4 separate regions of the Homo sapiens genome follow, and regions 2, 3 and 4 are each linked to region 1. The links are contacts of gene promoters, found by promoter capture Hi-C in blood cells and fetal thymus (Javierre and others, 2016). All regions are on one chromosome and are shown on one strand. The core of a region is centred on a gene start or on the middle of the fragment in contact, and the rest is flanking DNA. Distances in the headings are between cores, read along the strand shown.

Region 1 (4,789 bases), core at 76-2,575:
CACTTATTTTATAATGAAATAAACTGCTAGACAGCTTTCCCTCACCTTATCTCTTTGCTGGCTTCTCCTAATGGTGAGGTCTTGGCTCTGTATGTCAACTCTTCAGGAAGGTGATTCTCTGCCACTTAGGTGGCAGATTAAAGGGCAATACTAGGAAACACTGATAGTAAGGAAGAACTTTTCTTCTCCTGAATTTTATAAAAATAAAATATCCATAAGGCACCTCTATATTACTATTAATCCACTCAAATATATATTGATTTCCTATTAAGTGGCAGCATTGTACAAATAATTTGTAAGACTCACAAACCTACTAAATAGATATCCTGTCTTTAAAGAGTTTGCATTCTGATTGGCAAAATTTTGACCAGTTAGGTATACAAAAATTTAGACTAGAAAGGTAGAAGTATTACAAGACAGAGTAGTCAAAATTCTAGGGAATAAAGATTATCCTCACTTCAGAGAAAGGGTGCCCTTTGAGGCTGACGTGGGTTGTAGGTCAGATGAAGAGATTTGGAGGTAGGGCACTCATTTATAAACAAAAGGCAGCAATTAGTTATAGGTTTAAATTGCTCCAAAGGTAACAGGCCTTTAAGAAAGTCAATATCATATTCTTAAGCAGGAGTCCCTGATGCTGGGGAAGGGGGAAAGGGTCACAGAAGTCAGCCTTGCTGGAGATCACCGGCCTGCGTATCTCAGGCCCACGGGGGTGCCCCACCGAGGCTTTGCCTCACCTGACCGTCCTGACCACGAAGTACACCAGCACCGCGCCGCTCACCACCATCAACACGGTCAGGGCCCGCTGGGTCATGGGCTTGTCGCCAGGGTTGGGGCTCACAGCAAGGCCGCCACCCACCGAGCCTTCCCCGGCCTTCCCTCCGTGATCGTCCGTCTCAAGCCCGGCCACAGGGTTGCTGCCATTGCCTCCCTCGGAGCCCCGCGGCCCCGCAGCTTCAGCCAGACCACGGCCCGGCTGCTGGGCAGGGGTAGGGCCCGGTGGCAGCGGCGGTAATGTCCGTGGTCTAGGGTCAGGAGGCCCAAGACCTGGCGCGGCCTCGGCTGCCTGCAGCAGGACTGCCAGGGGCCCGCTTAGTTCAGGCAGCAACAGCAGGAGGAGGACGGAAGCCAAGAGGTGGCTGAGACAGCAGCAGCACTGCGAGGCCTTCATCGTTCCCGGACCGCTCTCTCACCACCCGGGAGCCGCCAGGCCCGCCACGCTGGCTCCAAGAGGGACCATAGGCGCGGTGGAGAATGAAGCAGAGGTGACCAAACGCCAGGGAGAGGCCCGGTCGTGGCAGGTGGCAGAAGCTACAGCAGTGGCAGCTGCCCGGAGAACCGGAAGTTCGTACATCTCAGCGGCCACTGCTGCTAAGGACGCCTTCGGTTGCTAACTTGTAGGGGCGGATGCACTTGGTGACGTCAGAGGCCTAGCGCCCAGTGCGCACGCGCACTTGTGTAAAAAGCGAGGACGTGACCGTTTTGGAAGCATTGTTCTTTTCACTGTTAGTGAGGAGCGGTCAAGGATGCGTATTAAGAAAGTAAGTAGACAAAAAGAGATTGTGTAAAATGTACAGCAACTCTCTCATGCAGGAACCCTGAGAGATTGGAAACTCATAATCTGAATTCATTGGTGTCAAACTGCAATAACACATTTAATCTGTAAGCCAGAAGGGCTTAGTTTTCCTTAGCTTCATTACAAGCTTTAAGCAGGCTTTTTTTCCTGCCTATGGGTCCCTGACCTCCCTTTCTAAAGAGCATTTGCTTGTAATGAGTTCATGTCCTTTGTAGGCACATGGATGAAGCTGGAAACCATCATTCTGAGCAAACTATTAGAAGGACAGAAAACCAAACACTGCATGTTCTCACTCATAGGTGGGAATTGAACAATGAGAACACTTGGACACGGGATGGGGAACATCACACACCGGGGCCTGTCGTGGGGTAGGGGGGAGGGATAGCATTAGGGGATATACCTAATGTAAATGACGAGTTAATGGGTGCAGCACAGCAACATGGCACATGTATACATATGTAACAAACCTGCACGTTGTGCACATATACCCTAGAACTTAAAGTATATTAAAAAAAATTACTTTAGAAAACTTTACCATTGTAAGTTATTTCTCTTCCCTTTTCAGATGTAAATATTTTTTAAAGCTTCTGGCCAGTTATATAATTGAAAACTATCTCAAGGGTATGGAAAGCCATCATGCCTTTGAAATATAATCAGCAAGGAAGGTAGTGGGCCATCTCTTATTTTGTGTGAGAGGAAAGGAACCTAACTGTTGTAGGCTTCTCGCTTCAAGTTGTAAAACCACCTCCTGTCATGGAGGAGAAAATTTACTTTTCCTTTGGGTAAAGTCAATCAGCAAACTCAGGTGGCCGGTGATCTTCCCAAAATAGCTCTTAATAACTCTCCACTCCTTTTTTTCTTTTAGAGGAGTTGAGATTAGAAGAGTTTTATCCCCTTTCCCAACAGCAGTAGTCTTCAATAATGTCTTCCTTGCCTGTTTGACTTCAGTAATATGGAACTTCAATTTGTGCAGATAACTAGAAGTGGCCGCATGATGTACCTCTCACCAATGAGATGCCTGTCAAGGGTATACGTGGGTCTTTTGAGTAAGTTATTGTTTTCATTGCTAAAAGAGAGACAGATACAGGTAGATATATACAGAGAGAGAGCCAGAAACACACACACATGCATACACACACCTACCTCTCTCATTATTCCTTTCCCCCTTTCACTTGCCTGCCCTCTCTGCACAGAAAGTTCTGGCCCTAACCTTGAAAAGAATATGACCCAGCTAGTCCTCTGATCCTAGTAGACTGTGGGATATCTGGCGTAAACTATGACTAAACCTATAGCCTGGCACCAAATGCAGCCAAGGTTAGCTTAAGTTAGTCAACCCCAGCTTGACCAAAGAAGTGAAAAATAAATGCTTATTTGCTGTATGCCACTGATATTTCTATGGTTATTGATTATGCCACATTATTCTAGCAATAGTTGATTAAGAAGCTAGAATCAAATCATGGTATTAATTAGGAGAATATAATAATGTGGCAGTAACCTGATACAAATTTCTCATTCTGAGATTTTTTCCCCTTATTTATGTATTTTTTTTTTATATCCTGTGCTTGGTACAACTTGTTTGCAAGCCAATTGATAACAAGTAAATGAACAAGTATATTAAAATTAAGAGAAAAATTCATAAACAACTAATTTTACTTAGTTTGAAAGATTGTATTTCACATAGATATTTGTGCTCAAAATTGTAACTTTCTATTGCACAAACAAAACACAGTATCTTCTCCTAGGAAAATTTTTGTTCATTCCCATGACAGATTTCAAGATGTCATTATATAATGATGTTTTACAAACAATATGGTATTCTAAAAAGAGCACAGTAACTTCCAGGTATGTTGCCTGCTTAAGATCACTTTTGTTGAGAATTGAGTATCTCTGAAAAATCTGATTTTGTTTTTGTTGTTGTTGTTTAGTTAGTTGGTTGCTATATCAGGAGAGATCTGTACTTAAAAAGTTTATCCTGGCAGTAATATAGCCATTTTAAGTGAAGGTAGAAAGTGCTGGGCACCAAGCAGGTTAGTATATAGTCCTAGGGCTATAGAGGCCTGTAGGATTGGATTAATGGGAAAAAAGTTAGGGAAATGGACAGGATATGACAATATCTGGATGCAGGTAGTAAGGGAAAGGAAAGAGATTCTTAAATTTCAGTGTACATGAAAATCACTCTGAGAGCTTGTTAAAAATGCATATATAGTCCATGTCTCCACTTCCAAAAATTCTGTCCAGAATTTCTAAAATAGTGATCTAGAATCTCCAATTTTAACAAATTCCCTTTCTTATTCTGTTTTGGGTAATTGAGAGCTGCATTTTGAGAAACATTAGAACATAGCTTTCCTAATCATTTGGAAACAATAGTTTGATTCTAAGATTTCAGAATCATTTAGCTCTTTGCATGTCCCAGTTATTGCCAAGGACTGCTGCAGATGGGAATTTGGGGTAACAAATGATACCAAGGTTTTATGCCTGCACATCTGGGAGAATGATAATGCCATTAATCAAGATGAAGAACATGACAAAATCAGATTTTGGAAGGAAGGAAAGATAATGCACATTTTCTTTTTTGTCATTCCTTTTTTTTTTTTTGACAAGTTGAATGTTGGACTTTTTTGGGAGGAGGCATTAAATACTAACTCTATTCTATTTTTTGGGAGAGGCATTAAATACTAACTCTATTCCATTTATAATGTGGAATGAAGTTCTGAGTAAGGAAGATGGGAAATCAAAAGGGCATTTTATTACTGATAAATGCCATTTGGAAGCTGACACTAGGGTGTACCACAAATGGGCTTCTTTACACTGAAACTCAACATTAAGATGCCTAATCCTTGCAGTTCTGCCAGCCAGAAGCAACTGCCTTACCCTGCTCCCTGAAAGCAGCTAAGAGACAAACTATCCTGTCCACTCTACCTAAAACAGCAGTTTACAAAATTTGTAGTATAGATCTTGTATGTTTCATTTATAACACACACTTAAGATTCCAAAATTAGTGTGATTATTTTTACCACTTGAACCTAAGTTCTATGAAGCAAGGGTCAATCTCATTTATTCACTACTCAATACTCAGAATTTAGCACAGTGCTAAAAAAGAGTATATCAAAAAAGACAAAGGTGGGCATTACATGATGGTGAAGAGTTTAACAGGAAGAGCTAACTATGCTAAATATATAAGCACCCAATACAGGAGGAGCTAGATTCACAAAGCAA
Region 2 (4,864 bases), core at 2,200-4,699, 2.6 Mb before region 1:
AAGTGGCAAAGGAAGCTTACCTAAAATCTCTTACTCTTACCTTTGGGATTATTTGGGTCACGGTTCAAAATAGCATAACGAGGAAGTAAAATACCTTCAGCTTGAAGAATACTATATACTTCTCTCCTGAAGAAAAAGGGAAACATCCTTATTGTTTTATTGCTCCATTTCACAATGAATATATTATTGTAGTTTTCTTAAAAGACATTATTGTTGTTCTATAACTAAAAAGGGTATATATCTCAACACTTTTTATTTTTTAAATAAACAAATGTCACTTCGAATATTCAAAAAAGGTATTCTGAGGAAATATTCAGCAATAAGAACACAAATTTATGCACAATTCTTTTCTAGCTTATTGAGAAACTAATTATTAAAACTGAGAACATAAATGTATTTTAAAAATGGCTGAATAAAGTTGATATTATCACAATGATAGAACATTACCTAAGCATTAAAAGCCTTATGCTTAAATAGTATTTAATGACATGGAGAAATGTTCACAGCATACTAGAGAAAAGTGATTCTAATTTGGTAAAATGTGATTGTTATGTATGTATTGTTTTCTATAGGAAAAAAATATGATAGATACAGTGACGATTAAATGGCTTTCGGTACGCTTTTACTTTTCAAACCATTTAAAACGAACATACATTTCTATAGCTATAGCTGTATATATAAAAACACATATATATGAATTAATATGTAAATGTAGAGAAAATGTTTTAAATTTTAGATATTAATAATGTTACTCTCTGGAAGAATAGAAAAAAATAAAGTGAAAAAACCATAAGGTCTCATATTTACAAAGCATTTTTCATACACATAAAATCTCATATTGTAATGGTAAAACAAGAAAATAGAATGCTGGTGAGATTATGAGAATAGCTATAGGAGTGAAACATTGATTGAATGAAATACATAAATACACTCATATTTTATAATTTATTAGAAATCCATGCTTTTTACCTGTTAAATGAATGCTAAGATATACAGTATAATATTTTTCAAAATAGGTATACTTTACCATTTAAAAAATCTAGTTATAGGCCGGGTGCGGTGGCTCACACCTATAATCCCAGCACTTTGGGAGGCCGAGGCAGGCGGATCACAAGGTCAGGAGATCGAGACCATCCTGGCTAACACGGTGAAACCCTGTCTCTACTAAAAATACAAAAAATTAGCTGGGCGTGGTGGCGGGCGCCTGTAATCCCAGCTACTCGGGAGGCTGAGGCAGGAGAATGGCGGGAACCCGGGAGGGGGAGCTTGCAGTGAGCTGAGATCCCGCCACTGCACTCCAGACTGGGCGACAGAGCCAGACTCCATCTCAAAAAAAAAAAAAAAAATCTAGTTATAATGAGTAAAGTCCTAATTTCATCATCAGTCCCATGACAGAAAAAGTGCTCATAAGTTTGAATGGTTTAGTAGGCTCTGGAAATTAAACAATCTCGGTTAAGTCTTTGTCCTACTACGTGGGGAACTTGTGACTTTGGGTAGATTAATCAATCTTCCTAATTATCAAGATTCCTCATCTGTAAAATTAGGTAATAAATAACTATTTCTGAGTATTATTTTGAAAGTACAATGAATTAATAATGCAAAAACACCTGATGCCATGTCAGTGTACAGTAGGTACTAAATTAATGTTATTTTTCCTTCCCTTAATTCAGCCAACTTCACCACTCACCTATCTTGTATGAGATACTGCATATTCAAGTCATTGATTACAAATGGATTCCTGAGTTTTGCATAGGCAACCGCTTTGTCCAGTGGAAATCCTAAGAACACATATTATTAACATATTCTGTATTATCTCAAGATAAGCATCTATACTTTATTAACTTGAATTGATGCCACCTCCCATAAAAGATTCATTTCATTAACACATAACACCCTTCTATAAAAGGTATGGAATATATACATAAACCTTGATTTAACTTATATATTAAATCTTATTTTTTCATAATTTGATTAAGGCACAACAAACCAGTGGTTATATAACCAAATTTGGAGCACTGACATGTGAGTGAAGGTCTGACTAGTCAGTCACCTGAAATAAGGTAAGATTCACCTCATACACAAAGAGAAATCTATATGTAAATAACATGGGTGTATCAGAATCACCTGGTGATTTTTAAAAAATGTATTCAACATCTCTTCTTTTCACTTAGATATTTTGATGCCTACACACATAAATTAGCTGATATTCAAAGACTTATGTGCCTTTAAAAACAGTGGGCCAGGCATGGGGGCACACGCCTATAATCCCAGCACTTTGGGAGGCCGAGGCAGGTGGATCACCTGAGGTCAGGAGTTCGAGACCAGCCTGGCCAACAGGGTGAAACCCCATCTCTACTAAAATTACAAAAAATTAGCCAGGTGTGGTGGCGCACACCTGTAATCCCAGATACTTAGGAGGCTGAAGCAGGAGAATCACTCAAATCCAGGAGGTGGAGGTTGCGGTGAGTGGAGATCGTGCCATTGTACTCCAGCCTGGGCAACAGAGCAAGACTCCATCTCAAAAAAAAAAAAAAAAAAAAAGCTACAGAAGCAAAACTTAATTCATATATGACATATATGCTCAAAATATATGAGCAGAATCATGCTATTGCTAGGTCAACATTAAAATATTAGAAATTAAGTCCCTAAAACTTGTAGACTGGTAAAAGTACTAATTACAATGAAAACAAATCAAATAGTAGATATAGTGAAGAACAGGTCCCCTCCCCCAAAATCTAAAAAATTTTAATGATTGTATTTTATTCTCTATATTGGCACTAATGCCAGGTGCAGTGGCTCTTGCCTGTCCCAGTACTTTGGGAGGCCGAGTTGGGAGGAGTGCTTGATGCCAGGAATTCAACACCAGCCTGGGCAACATAGCAAGATCCCATCTCTACAAAAAATTCAAAAGAATCAGCTGAGGGTAGTGGTGCAACCTGTAGTTCTATCCTTCAGGAGGCTGAGGTGGGAGGATCACTTGAGCCCAAGAGTTTGAGGTTACAGGGAGCTATGACTATACCACTGCACTCCAGCCTAGTTGACACAGCAAGACCCTGTCCTCCAGGGGGAAAAAAAAAATTGACACAAAGTCTCCAATTTTATCCATCAATACACATCATCAGTTGTATACCGTAACAGTTAAAGACATAAACCAGCGTTCAAATCCTGGTTCCATCTCTCACTAGCTATGTGACCTTGGGCAAATTTATTTAACGTCTCTAAGCCTCTGGTACCAGCACAAAAGAGTAGTATACCAGTCTTACCTAGTAGAGTTTTGAGGAATTAATAATAGTGTGGATATAAGGCACTAAGCACAGTACCTGGCATAGTAAGTGCTCAATAAATGTTACCTGTTATTATTCCTTAAGAGGCAATATTTTAATAAATATCTATGGAAAAGGATAAAAATCAGCAAGCATACATAACTTTAGTATTCAACTATGGAATACTAAGTATACCTGTGAAGAGACTATATTTTATAGTACTACCAGAATAGTTAAGAGAAAAAGTATTAAAACATGCTGAAATTAAAACAAAAAGCTGTGGCCAGTTAAATCAGATTTATTCCTAAACTCCTCTTAGTTTTTAAAATTTAAATACAGATACCTTATATCAAGAACCACTTAGCCACAAATTACAAATCCTGAAAGTTTTATAAAGACTCTCAGAATTCATCGCTTGTAAAGATGTCTCAATGTCTATGATTTGAAGCCTCCTTACAGAATTCAGCAAATAGAAAACACCTACACAGTTTCCTGCTTTTGTTTTTGTTAAAGAGAAACTTTTTCCCTACCAAGAGATGGTATGTGGAATATGACATTAGCTATAACACCCAGTTTTTACAGGCAAATATAACACTAATAGGAAGAACCATGTGAGGGTAAGGGAAGAATGCTTTACTCTCAAGGAGGAAGAAATTTTAAGGTTCTCTAAAATGAGCAGCCTGAGTCTTTGAAGATCAGTGTCTTGACTTCTCTATGAAATAATGAACATCAATTTAGGCTATGGTAGCAAAACCATGCTCCATCTTCTTCTTGCTGAAGTAAGACTTTAACATAGCTCAGGAGAACATATTTTGGTAACAAGTGATGATTAAATATGAATACATTTACAACTGAGAGCACATCTTTTCAATTAATAGTTCTTAGTGGGAAATTCACTTAATTCACAGATTCTTAGGCTATCAATTTTCAGATGTACCCTCAGCAATAATTTTGATTAGTGGAATTTACAATGACATAATACTTAAGCTGAAGTGATATTTCAGTTTGATTAATAAGATATAGCAAGGAATGTCTAAAAATCTCAAATTATTAAGTTCTTAAAAATAAAGTATGAATATGTATATGAAAAATGATAGATCTTGTTCTATAAAGCATAGAAAGGGGCTTAAAGTATTCAATAATTCAAGAACTTGTCCTAAGAAACTTAGAGATGCAAACAAAAATATGCAGTGAAAAAGATCACACAACCTTATTTTTAATAGTGAAAACTGGAAACTTTCCAAATGTTAGGATATTGGATAAATTTAAATATGTTATGGTATATCCACACAATGATATACTATGCCACCATTAAAAACCACATTATCTAAGAATGACATGGTAGGGGAAAAAAACTTCTTGATATAATAGTGAAAAAGGTTAAATATAAAATTACACATACACTATGACACTAAATTAAATGATAATACACATAGAAGACAAACACTGGAAAGAAATATATCACAATGTTAATATTACCTGTCCATGAAAGTGAGTTAATGTTTATTTTTCTGTTTTATCTCATAGTCTACAATTAATATGTATTAGTTTTATAAACAGAGAGGATAAAGGAGTTTCTCCCCCACTCCCCTTAATACCTT
Region 3 (5,255 bases), core at 1,106-3,605, 2.6 Mb before region 1:
AGAAAGGGTTTTATGTTACTTTAAACAGCCTGATATGGATGATAATACTTAGATATGATAATAATTATACATTACCATATACAAAGGACTTTTAATCATCCTCGTAATTGCAAAAAAGGGATAGATATTATGTCCTTTTCCAAACATAGATACTAAGGCTTAAGTCTATACCTTCTTAGACACAGTTTACTTATAGTGCCATGTATGTGAAAGTGAACTGTAATGTTTTCAAAAGTGAAATAATTTACCTCTGGAATATTTGCTATAATTTTTAATTCTCCTTTCAGGAAATGCAGGTAATTCTTTATTCATTCACAAATAGTTGAGTGTCCACTGTGTTCTGAACATTATGTTAAACAATGTAAACATAAAAAATTAATAAACTCTTTCCATTCCTCATTTATAATCTAAATTATTGATTACAAAAATCACTTTATAATTTGTGTAACAGAGGCCTGAACCAAGTATTATAAAAGCTAAGGATAACAAGTAATTGACTTACTGGTATAGCAGGGGGGAAAAGCGTGAAATTTGAAGTAAGAGACACCAAGTTAAAAGTGTCAGCGCATGTACTCACTTTATTACCTTGAGTAAATTGGACAATCTCTGAACCTCCATTTTCCTACCTGTAAAATGGATATAAAACTAATACCTACTTCATGAAGTACTGTGAGGATTATCATAGTAAAATACTGCATAACTATTTGCAGCTGTAGTCGTGAGTCACTTAGCAATGGAATAAATTCTGAGAAATGCTTTGTTAGGCAGTTTCAGCATTGCACGAATACAGACTCTACCTACATGAACCTAGATGATATGTGTGTGTGTGTGTGTGTATATTTTTTTCTTCATATAGAGAACCAAATGTCCCTGCACATTATTGGGTATCATTTATTTCTCCTACTTGATCTGCAGTGCTAATATCAAATGACCTATATCAGGTTCTATATATGCTCTGCTATCATCTTACGGGACCAATAGGCAGTCCATCCTTGACCAAAACATTCTTATGCAGTGCAATTGCGTTGGCATTGTTTTTAAAATTTTTAATTTTTTAAAATTATTTCCTCTTCCTATACTTTTGGCTTTTCCAGATGTCATATAAACAGAAATATAAAATATATAGCCATTTGTGTCTGGCTTATTTCACTTAGCATAATGATTTTGAGATTTATTCATATTGTTAGGTCTATTTATAGTTTGTTCCTTATCAATCCTTAATAGTATTCCAGTATGTGGATCTACTGTAATTTGTTTATCCATTCACCAGTTGATGAACATTTGTTTTCAGGTTTTGGCTGATATGAATAAAACTTCTAAAAACATACACTTACAGGTTTTTAGGTGTACATATTTTCTTTTGGGTTAGTATCTAAGATTGGTATTGCTGGACCATATGGTAAATTGATGTTTAACTTTATAAGAAATTGCCAAACTGTTTTCCAACATGTTTACATCATTTTCTATTATCACCAGTAAGAGCATCCTTGGTAGTACCTAGCATTGTTAGGTTTTGTTTTATTTTTGTTGTTGTTAGTGTGTAGTCATATCTTATGGTAGTTTTAGTTTACATTTTTTATTATCTATTGATGTTGAGCATTTTTTCATGTGTTTATTTGCTAATCATATCTCTTTAGTGAAGTGTATTTCCAGGTTTTAAATTGGGTTGTTTGCTTTCTTGTTAAGCTTCGAGAGTTCTTTATAAATTCTAGAAAAAGTTATTTATCATATGTATGTATTGCAGATATTTTATCCCAGTGTTATTTCTCTTTTTTTAGCAGTTCTTTAAGGAATAAAAATTTTAATTTTTTCTTTATGCATAGCTGCTTTTTCTTTGCTGTCTGGGAAGCCATTACCCAACCTGAGCTCACAAAGATTTTTGTTGTTGTCTTCGAGAAGTTGTATAGTTTTAAGTTGTACATTTAGATCTGTGAGCCATCATGAATTAATTTTTACATATCATTTGAGGTATGAGTTGAGGTTCATCTTTTTTCAAAGGATGTTTAATTGTTACAGCATTTGTTGAAAAGATTATCCTTTCTTCATTGAATTACCTTGGCACCTTTGTTGAAAATCAGTTTACTATAACTGAGTGGCTATTTCTGTCACTATTCTGTTCGATAGATTTAAGGCTGTCATTTTGCCATTATAACACAGTCTTGATTACCATAGTAGTATAGAAAGTCCTGAAACCAAATAATGTGAAATTCTTCAACTATATTCATTTCTCAAAGTTGTTGTAATTATTCTGAGTCCTTTAGCTTTCCATATCAATTTTAGAATCAGCCTGTCAGTTTCTGCAAAAGAGCTTGAGGGTTCCTGATTGGGACTGCATTGAATCTATAGATCAATTTGGAGAAAATTGGCATTTTGTCCCACTTTTTCTCAGAGGTAGAGTGGGAGTTACTCCAGCTTTCTGCATTCTAGTCAGAAGCCTATATGGGAATGTTTAGTGGCATTTCAGAAAGAAATAATTTTCTTCCATGGTTATATTCACTATAATATCTTTATTGGAAGAGATCACAGGACGAATCCCTCTATTTGTGAATTGGATGTCATCCCCTGCTGCCATCTCAGGACATCATACCATAAGTTTTTTCTCCTTTGTTTTCAGTGGTCTTTCTAGAAGCCCTTCCATTAGCATTAAACTTTTTGGGTTACTCCCTTGTCGAAAGCAAAACAATCTTGTTCAAAAAAAAAATTGTTTTAATTGTAGTAAATCACACATAACATGAAATTTACCATCTTAACCATTTTTAAGTGTGCAGTTCAGTGGCTTTAAGTACATTCACATTTGTTTTACAACTATTACCACCATCCATCCCAAGAACTCTTTTCATTTTGTGTAACTGAAACTCTTGACCAGTTAAATAATAACTCTTACATTCTCTCCTCCTCACCCCCTGTTCTATGCAACCATCATTATTCTTTCTGTCTGTATGTATTTGACTACTCTGACTACCTCATATAGGTGGAATCTTACAGTATTTATCTTTTTGTGACAGGTTCATTTCACTAAGCTTAATGTCCTCAAGATTCATCCATGTGGTAACGTGTGTTAGAATCTCCTTCCCTTTAAAGGTGTGTGAATATATACACCGTATTTTGTTTATCCATTCAGCCATTGATGGACACTTGAGTTGCTTCCATCATTTGGCTGTTGTGGGTGATGTGGCTATGAACATGACTGTCAAAACTTTTAACCCCACTAGAATGTAAACTCAATGAAGGTCAAGAGAATCTACATCTTGTTTATTATCCTGTCTCCAACGTTGTAACTGGCACATAGCAGTTACTCAGTCACATTTTTTAGATCAATGAATGAACCTTATATCTGTCTCTAGCAACTATCTTGTAGCTCCTTGCCTTTATAGCTAAGCCCAAGTTTCTAAATCCACTTTCTGAATTTCCATTCATTCCTTGTGTCATTTCAGTCTGGTTGCCAACTGCCCTGCTATACTGTAACTATACTGTATACTGTTGCCAAAACCACTAGCTACATTATGGTTCTTATATCACTTAGCCTCTCTGTGTACTTCTAAGAAGTCTGTATTTCCCAGACTTCTATTACCAGAACCTCTTCTGGCTTTTTTCCTGTTTCTCTGGCTAGTCTCATGTCCCTAAAGATTTACAATATATTTGGGAGAGAGACATATAAACTAATATATTCAATAGAGTGTTTCAGATTTTATGATAAAGGTTGACACATATTACTGTGAATGTACCAATGAGGGTGTGCACAATTCTCCCTGAGATTGGGGATGTGGTCAGAAAGGATTCATGGATGAATGAACTCATTAATGTGAACGTTGAAAGATAAGGATATGTTCACTGCACTTCCTACTGTGTACACTTTCCATCTGATCCTTCTTCCATTGCCTTAACTTCACCTACTTTTTACATGCCGAGTTCATCCATGAAGAATAGAACCTGCTTAATATTGTCATCTTTCTCCCTAAGCCAGAGCTTCAGACAGAAGTGATCCCAGATTCTTCTTTGTGTTTACTCCACACATCTAGTCAGTTACAGTTCTTATATAATGTATCTATCCATTTATACTGACACTGCTTTGGCTCAGAATTTCCTCATTTCTTGCTTTAATTATACAGTAGCTTCCTAGCTGACTGGTACAGGTATTCCTGTCTCTACCCCAATCTCTATTCCATATTGGTGCACAATACACTTTATAGAATAGAAATCTAATCTTGTAACTCCAACTCATTCTTAAAATTTTAAGTTATTCCAGGTTGGAGTGGTTAGAAGACACTCTGCAGGAAATTACACCTAGCCAGAGTTTTGAAATATGATGAGGGGCTGGAGAAATAGCAATAAAAGTTCATTCCAGGCAAAAATATCAATGAAAAGGTGTGAGCACACTGCATGGGATGGTTGAAGAACTGTGGTTATGTTTTGAATTGAGAATGCCAAGAGAAAAAGATGGAGAGATTGATAAAAACCATATCTTATAAAGCCTTGTATACTGGCAGAGGTATTTAGATATCATTAGTGCCATGGTCTTAATGGTTGTATTCTCCCAAAATTCATATGTTGAAATCCTAACCACCAAGGTGATGGTATTAAGAGGTTGGACCTTGGGGCTGGGCGCGGTGGCTCACACCTGTAAGCCCAGCACTTTGGGAGGCTAAGGTGGGTGGATCACTTGAGGTCAGGAGTTCGAGACCAGCCTGGCCAACATCGTGAAACCTCATCTCTACTAAAAATATAAAAATTAGCTGGGCATGGTGGCATGCACCCGTAGTCCCAGTTACTCGAGAGGCTGAGGAACAAAATTTGCTTGAGCCTGGGAGGCAGAGGTTGCAGTAAGCTGAGATCATGCCACTGCACTCCAGCCTGGGCGACAGAGCGCAACTCTGTCTCAAAAAAAAAAAAAAAAAAGAGGTGGAACTTTGAGGAGGTGACTTGATCATAGGTCAGAGCTCTCATTAATGGGATTAGTGCCTGTATTTTAAAGAGTCTGAGAGAAACCCCTTTCCCCTTCCCTCATGTGAAGTTACAGTGAGAAGACAGCTGCCTATAAGAAAGTGAACCCTCAGTAGACACTAAATTTGCTGGCATCTTGATCTTGTATTTCCTAGCCTCCAGAACTGTGAGAAAGAAATTTCTGTTTATAAGCCATCCAGTTTATGGTATATTTGTTATAGCCGCCCAAGTGGACTAAAACAATCAGGAATGGCAAAAGATGTATTTCGAGTTAAGTGAATATTTTGATAAGATTTGTGTTTTAGTGTGACCTC
Region 4 (5,556 bases), core at 2,222-4,721, 2.7 Mb before region 1:
CAAGGAGTTTGTAACTTTATTACTTTCCCTACCAGTACAGGAGAGTTTTATCCAAAGGAAATAGATAATTACTGAGTTTAATATGTGCTTCTTTAGCTTGAGAAACTGGAAGGAGCCAATGCACCAAGAACTGTCACTCCAAGAAACTAGCATGTTTATCAGCCTTTGCAACTTCTTCAGATGTAGATAACAGAAACACTCCCTTTCATGTATTTTGCCACCAACTATTCTCAAATTGGGGAACCAAAAAATCTTGAAAAGTAAGCCTTGATTCTACCCCACCAATGAAGCCTCTGGTTTTAACACACAGTAAATTGTAACAAAAATTGTTACCTACAGACAAAATGTTTATTTAATATAATTATCCCAAAGAATTTCCCCAATACTAATAACATTCATCTGCATTTCTTATTTAATGGATTTTTAATGGGAAAGAGGAGTTCTAAAAACGAACATTTCTTTAGCATCTTCCTTATGTCAAAAGTGATATACAATTTATATCATTTAATCTTAACTACTCCATGAAGAAAATATTATTATCCCATTTTTAAAGTACTCTTTAGTAGTAGCCCTATTTTAAAGTACTCTTTTAAGTGATACTACATGAGAGTCACAGCAGGAATTGGAACCCCAATTGGTCTGACTCCAAAGATCATTTACTTTACACTCTGGCCTCTGTTCAATGATAAGACAACATGTATAGCCTTTTACACAATAATCATGATCCCGCAAAATGTATATCAAGTAATTTCTATAAGTGAAAATCTATTTTAAGTGTATGGGTAGGCACTTTATCTAAAAGCTTTATTGCCTCATTTGTGAAATGGTTGGGGGAACTACTTAGCTGCATGGTTATTTCCAACTTGAAAAATATTAAGATTTGGTGGCACATCGTGGAAAGTCTTATACAAAATCCTTCTGAATCATGGACTCTTTCTCCTATGAGCTTCTATTTTCTAAAATCATAAATTATGCGACAGAAAAAAAGGTATCAACCAATACCGTCTGGTTATATGGTTGGATATCAAATACAGTTATATATTTCCGCTTTATTTCTCAAGACTACATCTATCACAAAGTGGGATAGATTTCATTTATACTTTTATAAATGTCAATTTAAAACAAGCAGGAGGAACATTAGAAATATCTGAATGTCTTAATCCTAAAGAATAGTTTTGACAGTCTTAAATCTCATTCAAACTTTCATATAATTTGCCTCATGTATTTGGTGACATATTCTTCTTTTTAAGCTTTTAAATGCATTAGAAAAATATTTACACTTTCAAAGAGTTTCTTTTTCAACATCAAAAGAAAGAAATCAACTAAAACTTTAGTCTGGATTTGAAAGCAGAGGAGCCTTGAAGACATTACCCAACTCTTGCACTGGAGCTGATGTGTAAATCTAGGAAATGATCGGTAATTTCATAGTAAACAAAGAGTAGTAACTGATTATTCCTATTATGCCAGTGCCAAGCCAAAAATAGAATATAAACACAATGTCCAAGGGAGCAACACAAGAAAACCAAGGTGCAGAAGCTCCATTACATTCTCACTTTTTCTAATTTTGACTCTGCTTCCTGCTTTGTGGGAGGAGGAGGAAGAGCAGGAGGAGGAGGAGGAAGAGCAGGAGGAGGAGGAGGAGGAGGAGGAGGTATATGGTGAAAAAGAGGGAAAAATAAATAAAAAGAACAAGACCAGAAACTAACTAGTATAAGATTATACGTTTTCTTTAAGACATAACCCATAAAGAAATCTACTACAAAATTACAGTAAGGGTTCTACCCCCATCTCCCACTTATAACAATTAAAAGATTGTAATATAAAAATTCCCAAAACATGTACCTTTCAAATAACACACATTTTTAGAATACTTTAAAAATCTATAATTCTCTAACGCTTGCAACTGATTTTGGCCAATGTTCTAAACACTGAAGGCTTGGAAAGATATCAACAGATTTCCTCTCCAAAACAGTCAGCAAGAGGAAAAGGAATCCATGTGAAATTCTTAGAAGATAGACTAAATGCTGCATAAAAACAAAGACTGAAGTAAATAGAGCAAAGGCTACAAGATATAATAAATGCTTCCAGTTATAAGAAGCTGAAACAGAATGCAGTGGGACATTATCCCATAAGCAATAAAAATAGGAAAAAACCAAGCAGTGGCCAAGAGCTGCCCACAGACTTCTGGATAAGAAAGTCATGGGTGACTAAGCAAAAGACACCCAACATTTCACTGCAAGTGGAGCTTCTACAAATAGAAAAGTTTGCAAACATTAACTACCAAATGTATCGAATTTCTCAGGTGATAGTTATTATCACAGGTAAATAAGAATGCCTTTCAAAAGAAGAGTGACTATATATCTCAATTCATAGTCAATACCCTGGCATAATTATTGAAAGCAACCCCCTTTAACTCTCAAAAGTGTCTCAGTTTGGCTGTTTCATTTGTTATCCTACTCAAAAGCAACATGGAAAGGCAATGACTTTTTTAAAAAGGGAAACACCCTTCTGCTTGAACGGTGAATTCCCATACAGGTCTGAGTTCTTTCTTCGGGTGTACCCACTTAGATATTCACTTATTCAGTCATTCAACAATGTTTCTTAAGTCTTATTATATATCCCCACACTATGCAGGCACTGGTGCACATATAAAGAGATGGCCTGAGACTGGGTCAGAGGGGAGGGCAGACATGGAAATAAATCCTTCTAATAACAGTAAACCTGAATGGCACTAGGAACCCAAAAAAGGGAGTGCCTTTCCCAAAAATATACAAAGCTCCATTTGGAAATGTTTATGTCCATACAAAATTCGTAAACACACAAAAAAGTCGTGAATCTCAAGCTTCAGCACAGATCACTAACAAAACAGCAGTAAGAAAAAATTTAACAACATTGATCACAAATCATAAGACTATAAATATGAGGACCAGCACATAGCCCTTTCAAATATTGGTAAATAAAAATCACATTCATCATTAAAGTTTATATTATGAAAGGACAAATTTTAGGCAGAGAAATTGGTACAGTAGAAGCTGTGAGTTCTAATTCTAGCTATCAAAACATTTATTTTCATTTTTTTCATGGCCCTAACCTGAAGCCCACCAAAACATTTTCAAGAAAGAAAAGAAAGAAAGAAAGAAAGAAAGGAAGAAAGAAAGAAAGAAAGAAAGAAAGAAAGAAAGAAAGAAAGAAAGAAAGAAAGAAAGAAAGAAAAAGAAAAACAGGTAGTATTTTCAGAGTGGCTATTTAAGAAGAGACCACTAATGGAAAAGCACTTGGAAAAAAAACATCAATTTTTAAAAATTCTTTCAAAATAGTGAAAATATTTTGTAACCACTAATCTCAAAGACCACTAAAAACAAGTAAAAGATGAACCAAAACATCTCTGGAGGAATACTAACTGAACACTAAGCAGAAATAAAATGGCTTAACTGTCAAAGTACAACACAACAATGAAAACAAAATGTTTAGCTGCACCTAGATGCTCATCTTAGAGGCTTCTTTCAAATATTCTTACTTTACCATTTGCAACTTGCAAAAAGTAAGTCATCAATACTCTTTAAGAAGAGTTAACTAGGGTGTGACTTTTCTGAAACCATCCTTGACCTTACAAACAAACCATTAACCTTGCCAACTTTGTAAGATAACCCATAATTCGTTCAGTAAGACAAAAATGTGTTTCTCTTTCTAGTATCAGTTCTTTTAATAGCAATCCACCCCCTTAAAGTGCAGCACTCATTATCTTTCCATTTCTGCTAGTAAAAATTAAACCTAGGTTACTAATATCTTCTTATCACGTGGTGTCATCCTTCTACTTTTAGAAAAATACTCAGTTTCACTGCAAATATGACCGACAGTAAGTGGAACTAAAGGTCAACATGCAGCCTTTACAAGAAATTTGTCTCTTAGGAAGTATCATCAAAATGGAACAGGTGTACACTGTGGAATTGGCTAATCTTTGGGAAGGCTTAAAACCAGGTACTCATTTTGATAGGCTGGTGACAAAATCAAAGTTCTCTCTGGAGGAAAGGAGCTGATCCCCCACCTCACCCCCAGCTACAAATCAGCAAAGAAATTTTAAACCCTGTACATAAAGCTTTATTACTCTAACCATATTAAGTACTTTTGAGTTAATTTTATAATAGCTCTCTAAAATACACAGAAATATACAAAGAAAATAAGCAAATTCATTGACTGTTATATAATATCAATAAATATATCTTATACACTGAAATAATTACTAACACTTTCATTTGCAATTAAATAAACTGTTAGCAAAAGCATATTCTATACATCAATTATTATCAAATTAACAGGTCTCTGTATTCATTAACTCTTATATTCCATCCTGTTCATTTTACTTTTCAGTTTATAATGCATTCACAGTTACATAATTAAAACACTGAGGATTCTGTGACACATTCATTAAACTTAATAGTGTAATCATAAATCGCGGCCAAAAGCTTCTGCCGTAATAACCAATACTATATTTTGAAATGACTGGGAAAATAAACTTTGCAAAAGGGTCATTTCTACCTCTATAGTGTCAATCCAGCATTACAGGATTTGAGAAAATAAAACAACTAACAACCCTAAATTGTAGGTTGGCTCTTCGGAAAAAAAAAAAAAAGGAAAATGAGTCTAGTAACATCAGAAATATGCAAGAATTGTTCTTTCAGCTAGGAGCGGCAAGCACACTGTAAAATGCCTCCATTCTTCCTGCTCAAATAAAAAGTTCCCAGCTCCAGCTTTACCTGTGCACCACACACACACAAACACACACACACACACACACACACACGGAAATCTTGGTTCCACCCAAATCAGTAACCCACTGGGTTGAAAACTGAGGTGGAAGGAGAGGCAGGGAGTCCCTAAGCGTGTGGAACACTAGCAAGGGGAAAAGGACGGGGCCATCATTCCCTTCGCGTTCCCATCTCCTTTCTGGCGGAGACCTGCAGATTCCACCACTAGAGAGAGTTTGGCAGCTTCACAATGGGGCCGCGTTGCTGGAGGTCTGACTGCCACCCGCCTCGAAACCCCTCTCCTCCGCTTCCCACCTGCCCCAAAGTCCACCCGCGACAGGTGGGGCGAGGGTGGCAATGCCCGACATCTGCCGCTTAAGCTTCTGGCTCGGACCGGGCCCCAATCCACACGCGCACACACGGCCACAGCCGGCCAGTCCACCCCCACTGCACCGGCAGACACTCGGAGGGCGCGGGCGGCCTCGCACGCGGGTTGCAACCAGGACGAGGAGGGTCGGCGAGATCAGACCGCCGGGGCTCGCCCTGAGGTGCTATCTGACCCGGGCAGTCGCACCCTGAGCGCGGCCGGGCACGCAGCCAAAGGTGCCGCCGGCCGGGGAAAGCTACTTCTCAAAGGGGCCTCCAGGCCCGCTGCCCCGCGGTGCGGGAACAGCGGCCAAGGGAGGGAGCGAGCGAGCGTGCGCGCCAACGCGCCCCGACTTCCGCACCGCGGCACCGCGGGAGAGGCGCTCCGGGTCGCCGAGTCCCCGCACCTCCCCAGCGAGCGCACGACGCGCGCACACGGGGGCGC

The links. The method cuts DNA at HindIII sites, captures the fragments that hold promoters and counts their contacts. A CHiCAGO score of 5 or more calls a contact.
Region 2: a contact is called between a fragment that was not itself captured here and the fragment with the promoter of FAM174A in region 1, in 2 of 17 cell types (non-activated CD4 T cells and total CD8 T cells). The highest score is 6.8, in non-activated CD4 T cells.
Region 3: a contact is called between a fragment that was not itself captured here and the fragment with the promoter of FAM174A in region 1, in 3 of 17 cell types (naive CD4 T cells, non-activated CD4 T cells and total CD4 T cells). The highest score is 6.6, in naive CD4 T cells.
Region 4: a fragment that was not itself captured here is called in contact with the fragment with the promoter of FAM174A in region 1 in 2 of 17 cell types (non-activated CD4 T cells and total CD8 T cells); the score reaches 8.3 in non-activated CD4 T cells.

Annotation. Positions count from the first base shown.
Region 1 is chr5:100,531,910-100,536,698 of GRCh38, reverse strand. It overlaps FAM174A (family with sequence similarity 174 member A), which reads right to left and starts at 1,325. Exons shown (of 3, transcript NM_198507.3): 1 at 735-1,325. The coding sequence starts at 1,168. FAM174A-DT (FAM174A divergent transcript) reads left to right here and starts at 1,456. Exons shown (of 5, transcript NR_172939.1): 1 at 1,456-1,538; 2 at 2,547-2,619. RefSeq lists an enhancer at 1,067-1,366. The HindIII fragment of the contact is 3,135 bases long and covers 1-1,702 here.
Region 2 is chr5:103,133,646-103,138,509 of GRCh38, reverse strand. It overlaps PPIP5K2 (diphosphoinositol pentakisphosphate kinase 2), which reads right to left. Exons shown (of 31, transcript NM_001276277.3): 3 at 4,862-4,864; 4 at 1,688-1,778; 5 at 41-126. Among named protein-coding and RNA genes, the nearest start is that of PPIP5K2, 16 kb to the right of the region's middle. The HindIII fragment of the contact is 6,863 bases long and covers 18-4,864 here.
Region 3 is chr5:103,113,163-103,118,417 of GRCh38, reverse strand. The region is part of intron 1 of GIN1 (gypsy retrotransposon integrase 1); the gene reads left to right. Among named protein-coding and RNA genes, the nearest start is that of GIN1, 4.3 kb to the left of the region's middle. The HindIII fragment of the contact is 1,334 bases long and covers 1,689-3,022 here.
Region 4 is chr5:103,259,296-103,264,851 of GRCh38, reverse strand. The region is part of intron 1 of MACIR (macrophage immunometabolism regulator); the gene reads right to left. Among named protein-coding and RNA genes, the nearest start is that of MACIR, 3.3 kb to the right of the region's middle. RefSeq lists a silencer at 5,329-5,556. The HindIII fragment of the contact is 1,254 bases long and covers 2,845-4,098 here.